Linked DNA regions of Homo sapiens: region 2 is linked to region 1. The links are contacts of gene promoters, found by promoter capture Hi-C in blood cells and fetal thymus (Javierre and others, 2016). All regions are on one chromosome and are shown on one strand. Each heading gives the region's core, a stretch centred on a gene start or on the middle of the fragment in contact. The rest is flanking DNA. Distances are from core to core; before and after follow the strand shown.

Region 1 (3,936 bases), core at 643-3,142:
TAACTAAGCATCTACTACATGCCAAACATATGTTTTCTCATTCTATTCTCAAAACGACCTTACTATAAAGGTATTAGCTCTCTGTGACTGATAAAACTGTGGCTTATAGATATGTTACCTAAGGTCAAACAGCTAAGGAAAAATCACACAGCTGGGAGGCTAACTGAAGTCTGTAAAACAAGTCCTTTTCCCACTAACTACGTATGTTAAATTGTTTTTCCAGTAGTGGTAATAGAGAACAGCTCTTCGCCCCTCCTTCTCTTCCCTCCACTTCCCCGTGAACAGCATACACTATTTCTTTGTGAGACCAGGTGCAAAGAGCAATCTCTGGCCATGACACAGAGTACGGCCTACAAGGATCGAAACTGTATTATGCTTTTATCCACAGCACGGTTCTAGCTAAATGATCTAACTACATACAAATGTAATGAGGTTGGAGTAGAAAAGCACATTAGCAAATAATTATCCAAATGCCATTTGTATTTGGTTCTGAAATGTACTGTAGACCTATTGGCAGCAGGTTTATCTTTACAACTGGGTTTTGCTTAGGCTATTCTCAAAATAGCTTTCCAGCAGCACATACTGAGTAGACAACAGAGGTTGCTTGATCTAGTTTTTGGAGACTGAGGAAAACATGTTTGTTGAGCCTATCTTGATTGACAAGATAACTAGAGGCAATACGGTAAAATGTAACACTGTGCTTCCAATGTGTACAAACGGCTCAGCTAAACTCCCTGAACACAATCCACCTAAACAGTCTAAGCTCAATAGCCGACCGAGTTAAGCAGGATGACAGCTCCAGTAACTTCCTCTTCCTCACCCAGCTCCTCAGCTCGGCGGCGCGTACACGCCTCTCCCCCTAGGAGGCAGGATAAAACAATTTCAAATGCACAAAATCCATCCAATCCCACAGGCCAGGAAAGCCAGTTTCCCTTTCTTCCTCAGCCCTTCCAAGAAAATGTTTGTCTAATTAAAAAAAAAAAAATCTTACCAACGGCAAAGTATTTGCAACAAAAATCCAAAATATTTACTCAGTCCCTCCACACAGCCTTAGGGGAAGGATGAAAAGAAGGGAACACGACACCGCGTATTCCCAAGACTGACTGTTCTGATTCACTTTCCTCCCTCGGGTCCCACAGCCGGCCGGGCGAAGGCTTGCAGTTGGAACGCCAAAATAAGCCTTCGCCTCTCAGGAGACGCGGAGGCGGCCACGGCGACGGCAATCGGCGAGTCCCGCCTCCGACCCTCACCTGCCCAGGCCCGAGGCAGCGCCGTGGGCTCGCGCGGGCTCGCCGTCCCGGGAGGCGTCCGGGGAGGTGGGCGGGCGCCCAGGCAGTTAGGCCGCGCTGCAGGCCGGCGCGCTTCCTGCCGCGGCCGGGGAACGGCGGCCCCGGGATCAGCGGCGCGGCACCGACCAGCAGCTCTCCCAGCCCCGCTGCCGCGCGTGTGCCGCACTCACTCAGCCCTCCCCGGCCGGCCCCCTAGGAGCAGCTCTCACCTGCGAGGCTCGGGAGCCGCAGCCACAAAGCGGGAGGGACACGCCACTCTGGGGTCCCGGCCCCGGGCCACCCCCGACACACACACACACACACACACACACCCCGGAACCTTCGCCCGCCTCTGAAGAGACGCGGGTCAGCCCCGCCGCCCCCTCCAGTCACCCGACACACACCCACTCGCCGTGGGTCCTCGGGCCGCCTCCCCGCCCGCCAAAGTCCCAACTCGCACACCCACACGCACATTTGTCCCTCTCCCACCTCATTTCCCCGGGGACGCGCTCCTCTTCCCAACACTCTCGGTCCTACTCGGAGGCAAAAGAACACTCTACCTCATTCTCTTCCTCTGGCCCAGAAGCAACAGCAGCCATTTCCCCGCGGCAGGGGAAACACACACACAAACACGCGCGCGCGCGCGCACCAGGCCCCCACAGATGCTTCCCCTCCAGAGCCGCGGCCGCAGACGCAGACGCAAACACAAACACCCACGGCGGGCCTCGCTCCCGCCCGCCCCGAGGGGAAGCCGCGGCGGCACACAGGGCCCGTAACCGGGGCTCGCGGGCGGGCGCGCAGGGAACCCGGGCCCGGGGTCTCGGGGGGCCCGCGCCCCCTCCTCACCTGCATTCAGCGCGCCGGGGTCCGGGCGGCGGCGGCGGCGGCGGCGACGGGGCGGCTGGTGCTGGTGCTGCGGCGGCGGGGGAGGCGGCGGCGGCGGTGGCGGCGGGGCTGAGGGCAGCAAAGACATGCAGGCAGCCCGCCGGAGGGGAGAGGCACCGGCCGGAGGGGATGCGGGGCGGGCGGGCCGGGCCGGGCCGCCTGACGAACGGCAGAGGCGGCGGCGCGGAAGGCGGCTGAAGGGAGCGAGGAGACAGACCGGGGGTCGGGAAGGGGGACGAGGGCCGCGCCGCCGGGCTTCGAGGACAGTGACCCCAGGCGCGCAAGAGAGGCCCCGCGGCCGCGGCCGCCGGCGCGAAGGCCCCAGCCGAAGGAAGCTGCGCCCCCGCAGGGCCGGAGCCGCGGCTACTGCTCCGAGAGCCACGCAGAGCCTGGCCTTGGCCTTGGCCTCCTGGTGCTGGGGCTGCCGCCGCTGCGGGGGTTGCCGCTGCGCCGGGTGCTGCTGGGGCCGAGGTTGAACAGAGACGCCAGCTTTCGGTGCCTTCGCTCCCGCTCACACACGTTCACACCCCCGAGGGCCGGGGGAGAGGCGTCCGGGCGATATCGGTATTGAGATTAATAACAAGGTGCAGAGAGTGCGAGAACGAGGAGGGTTGATTGACGTGGAGGGGCTGGCGGGAGTCAGTCACTCCCCGGCGCGGAGGGTTGGGGTGAGGGGAAGGAGGCGGGGCGGTGACGGGGCGGAGCTCCTACGCAGCGCCTTGGCCCCGCCCCCCGTGCGCCGCGTTTTGTCGCGGTGAGCGCGCGGAGGCCCGGGCTTCTTAATGGTTTTCTGTTTTGCTCTGGCTGTTTTCTCACTCTTTTTTCCTGGCCTGAGCGAGGAGCGGGGCTGAGAAGAGTGGTAGAGTTTCAGAAACCCACATCCACAGAGCCTTGGCGAAGAGACGGGAAACCGCCTCACCCCGGGTTCTTGTGTGGGCGCTGTTTACTGCACCCTCCTCGCCCGAGGCGACCTGACAGCGAAGCAGAGCGTAGGTCTAGGTGGCTGAGACGCCAGGGGAGGTGAAGTGACCGAAGGAAATGTTTCCTGACATATTCGGTGGATTTTTTTTAAAAACATATAGCATCTGTAAGTTGTATCGTCAAAGGTAAATAAAAGAACCTGTGACGCTCAGCGATAACCCGGTCCTATTTTCTAATTCTCCCTTCTCGTTGTAGACTTTAGTTTGTTGTTTGTAGCTTATCCATGCCATCTACAGAATGAAAACATCCAAATGCAAACTAGAAATAGTAGTGTTTACTTGGTGAACCTGGCTGTGATACTTTAAGTTTCTGGGGTTTGTTTTTGTTTTTGTGGGCCAGCTTCAGCTTTTTTGGGCCAGCAGTCCAAAAAGCAAATTACACCGGCTGTGGAGGCAGAGTACTGCTGTTGCAGTTTTGCACAATTTTAATCTCTTTCTCAATGCATGCCCGGGCTCGTGTATTTACCAGTGTTGGTCAAGGGTATATTAGCAATGTTCAGTATTTTTTCCCCCACAGGAGTGTTTAGCACACTAAGCACGTTGCGTTGGTTGCAATTCATCTTAGGCCTTATTACTGAATGTAAAATGCCTTCATCTCTTGGGGGAAAAGGTGCGGTGAAAATGCAAATCATCATTTAGCTAAAACTGAACAGCTGTTACAAGAGTCCATAATTGCAGAACTATTGCACCACTTTCATCTTGGCACCAGGATGGGTGAATGAGTGAGTAAAAAAGCCCCTCAGTTCACAAGACGACAGACTATTTTCTTTTCTACCTATGTTAATTTTCCATTTCCCTCCCTA
Region 2 (3,936 bases), core at 581-3,080, 4.6 Mb after region 1:
CACACACCCCTCCCCATTACAAAAAGGAATGGAAGCGTGAACCCACGATCATCGGTCAGTAATCGGAGCTAAGAAAACTCAACCAAGAAACCTGATTTAGTCCCTCCTGCTAACTCCCGTATTATGTTCCCAATCCCAAATGCTGCATTTTAATACACTAAATGCAGATTTAGGTAGTATATACAACTGTTATTTCAATTGGAGGAAGCAAGTTAATACTAAGAAATTTGCACCAAAAAGAAAAAAAAAGTATCCCATAGCACAATACAGGATTTGTTTCTCTTAAGAGGACTACAGGCCTCCCTTAGTGGGCGGGAAACAGATATCAAGACACCAAAATAGGATCCTGGGCACCGGGAAAAAAAGGGGGCTGGGGGTTGTAAAAAATTAGGTTGCACATAAAAAGTAAGGTACAATCTGTACTAACAGTTGGGGAACCCAATAGCTGAGGGCGCGAAAAGGGTGCGCGGTTAGAATAACTCAGTGGGGTGGGGGAAGGGTAGATGCTAGGCCGGAGATAGGAACAGCTCCAGTCAAGTGCAGGCCCGATCGACTAAGAACTTAACCAGAGCCCGCGGAGCAAAACCAATGTACCAACAAGAAACTCGGAGCATTTCACCAGACCCAATTTGGTCTGCATGTCAAAATGTAGGGCCTGTATGAGTATGCCATTGTGCGATAGCGTATGGTGGAGAAAATGAGTAAATCCTTAGGCGAAACTTATTCAAAATCCCAAGAAAACAGTCGGCCTAAGGCCGACAAGGGAGAGGCAGAGGTGGACAGCCTACGCGTTCCCCAAAACATGTGCTTATAAACAATCGCATCGTTTCAGGATGGTGGAGAAGCACCAAATAAACCTTAGTAATACAAACAGAGAAGCTGTTTGTGTCTGTGTTTTTATGCCCAAGACTGTAGAAAAAGGGAAAAAGAGGGGACAGCATGGAAAGAAAAAAGGTACCCCACGACAGGCGGGAAAAAATCCTGGCGGCTAAGTCGGTGGGAGGAGACCCATGGCGAGGGAGGAAAGGAGGGCGGGCCGAGGAGCAGCATGGTGACGGCTAAAGGTGGAAACGTGTGTGATGGGGGAGGGGGGCGATAAGCAGGCAAAGGAAGAAGGAAATGAAGGTCCGGGGAACCCAACATAGAAAAAGGGAGACCAGTGCAAGGAGGCTGCATGGGGGCCCGGAGAACGGGCTGAGAGCGGGAACCAGGCCTAATGGCGGGGGAATAAAGAGGGGGAGGGGGACTAGTTGGGCCTGACTATCCTGGGATGCCCCTTACTCACCCTTCATCCTCCTCGTTCTTACTGGCGTCAATCTTCGCCCCCTCCGACTCGGCGCTGCCCCCTTCGGTGCCTCCAGACGCGGTTCCGCCCCCGGTCCCGGCTCCGCTTCCCGCCGCCGCCGCTGCCCCCTGTGTCGCCGCCACCATGGCTCCCTCCTGCTCGCCCGCCGAGCCGCCTACCGCCGCCGTTGCCGCTGCCGCCGCCCCGTCCCCGCCGAACTGCTCCTCCGACATAGTGCTAGTGTCTCCGCCGCTGCCGCCGAGACTACACCCGCCGCTGCCGCGAACCGAAACTAGCAGCAAAGTAATCCCCGCCGCTGCCGCGCGCCCGCTCTACCTCGCGAAGCACACAAGACAGGGAAGGCGCGCGCGTGGCTGCAAAGGCTCCTGCGCCTCTCCCTGGCCTGCCCCCTTCGCCTCCCACTCTCGCGCGGCGCACACTCCCGCTCTCTCCCGCTGCACTAAAAAAGAATAAGCACCAGCGGCGGCCGCTCTCGCCTCCTCCTCGCTTTAATGGCGCCGCCGCGGACCACCTAAAATGGCCGACGGAAGAACGGCGCGTCCCGGTCACGTGACGCGAGAGCGCGCCCTTCGCGCGTCCCCCCACCCCTATCCCCCTAGTTTTTTTTTTTTCCCTTTCCTCCTCGGTCCCGCCCTCTCGCTACCCTTTATACCTTCCTCTCACGCTCCGCGTTGCACAGCCTTGGGGGCCTTTAAAAGGAACCGGAAGTGTCGTGAGCTAAGACAGTCGCGCGGGGACCATCGAGAACAAGGAGTGCTGTTTCGAAGTAGCGGCTAGAGGGGCCCCCTGCCTCCGCCCCCGCCCTTCCGAGGATTCCTGGAGTCCACTCACCCCTCCCCACCACTCCAGTAGCGGCGGGAGCAGCAGCGTTAGGCCGGGGTGTGGCTGCACCTCTGCGAAGGCTGTCGTGCCCCGTGCAGCTGCGGCGTTCGGGTGGGGGAGGGGAGGCTCACACCCTGCGGCGGCTTAAGCCTGGATTTACGCACTGGAGGAGGGAATTAGCCCTGAGATGTCAGCCCTGTGCCCCTGGCGCTGTCCACCCGGACGCCCGCGGAGCGCCAGGCGCCGCAGCGGACCGCGCGCGCACTGATTGCCGCAGCTACTCTCCCTGCCGTCGCCGCCCGGGACCGGGTGACATTGAGGTTTTCGTCTATCGCCGCTGGGCCGATAGGGCTTCTTTTTAAGATTTGGCTTTCCAAGTAAGATTTTTGTTTGCCTGCTTTTCTCCTGGAATTTTTTTGTTTTTGGTCGAAGAAGCAGGTAACTTGCATATCTTAAGGAAAACATTGTTTTTGCTTTGCTTTTGTTGTTTAAAGATCCTAAAACGTACCGTGATTCCTTTACGTTACTAATAATTGGAAAGTGTGTTAAATCAAGGGTTCGCTTAATGTTCTTTAGCCTTTGTACATAGAATATATAAATGTCGTGAGTCATCTTTACGAGGTTTATGAGTTTGTGTTCGGGTTTGGCTTTTTTGTTGTGTGTGCGTGGTTTTTTTTTTTCTTTTCTTGTAACACCGTTAGGCGTTTCATTAAGGTGTATAAAAAGTAATTTTATACACCTATTAAAAATTCCCGCTGCCTCGGCTGGAGACTGGATTATTCGGGCTTTGGGATTTGCTGCTTCCAGCAGTATCCTTAGAAGAAAATGAAGCTTCTAGGTACTTCTGTAGTCAACAAATAATTATTTGCCTGTTTAATTAAAGTGTTCGGGCACGGGGGAAACAAAGACGAGTTTGCAGACTCCAGCAAAAATCTTAAGAGTTTAAGTATTTGGGCCGGGCGCGGTGGCTCACGCCTGTAATCCCAGCACTTTGGGAGGCCGAGGCGGGCGGATCACGAGGTCAGGAGTTCGAGACAAGCCTGACCAACATGGTGAAACCCCCGTGTCTACTAAAAATACAAAAATTAGCCGGGCGTGGTGGCCGGTACCTGTAATCTCAGGTACTCAGGAGGCTGAGGCAGGAGAATCGCTTGAACCCGGGAGGTGGAGATTGCAGGGAGTCGAGATCATGCCACTTGCACTCCAGCCTGGGCGACAGAGCGAGACTCCGTCTCAAAAAAAAAAAAAAAAAAAAAGTTTAGGTATTTTCCACTGCAGTTAAACGAATTTGTATTAATTGGACACTATCCAAAAATCTCAAAGGAAGATTATAAGTAAGTTTTATTAATCAAGTTAGTAGAATTTACATTACAGAATAATTAAAACTCAAGAATACAGGTCAAATTCTGAAAACGTCCTAAAAATATAATCTTACCAAACTCCCGTAATAATCAAGTCACATAAAGGTAATACCAAGAATGTTTACCGTAAAGTGGTAGTGACTCCACATTTGTCTCCACCTGCCAGAATATTAGCAAAGGATAAAGTGGATATGGTGCTCAAACCATATATTCCGGGTTAGATACAACTAAGATGATTGACTGAAGGGAAGTCTGTTTAATCTTTTCTGGCTCAAGTGACGGTAATTGTCATTTATTTTGATCTTAAGATATCATTAGACATACCCACCTTTTGGTAATAGTGACTTTTCCAAAAGGTTCATTTTGATTTCACATGTAGCTTAGGAGCTTCTGGAATTCTTAGAATTTATGTCAAAAGTTCCAGACAACCTAGGAATGATTTTAAAG

Evidence for each region. Contacts are between HindIII fragments. The CHiCAGO score rates a contact against its expected background, and 5 or more counts as called.
Region 2: a contact is called between the fragment with the promoter of HNRNPD here and the fragment with the promoter of CNOT6L in region 1, in 2 of 17 cell types (fetal thymus and non-activated CD4 T cells). The highest score is 13.0, in fetal thymus.

The regions. Positions count from the first base shown.
Region 1 is chr4:77,817,476-77,821,411 of GRCh38, forward strand. It overlaps CNOT6L (CCR4-NOT transcription complex subunit 6 like), which reads right to left and starts at 1,893. Exons shown (of 12, transcript NM_144571.3): 1 at 1,829-1,893. The coding sequence starts at 1,833. RefSeq lists silencers at 1,190-1,589, 1,670-1,739, 2,230-2,329, 2,370-2,529, 2,790-2,939. The HindIII fragment of the contact is 6,822 bases long and covers 1-3,936 here.
Region 2 is chr4:82,372,161-82,376,096 of GRCh38, forward strand. It overlaps HNRNPD (heterogeneous nuclear ribonucleoprotein D), which reads right to left and starts at 1,831. Exons shown (of 9, transcript NM_031370.3): 1 at 1,286-1,831. The coding sequence starts at 1,518. HNRNPD-DT (HNRNPD divergent transcript) reads left to right here and starts at 2,408. Exons shown (of 2, transcript NR_183813.1): 1 at 2,408-2,505. RefSeq lists enhancers at 380-429, 1,790-1,959 and a silencer at 1,330-1,429. The HindIII fragment of the contact is 7,055 bases long and covers 1-2,957 here.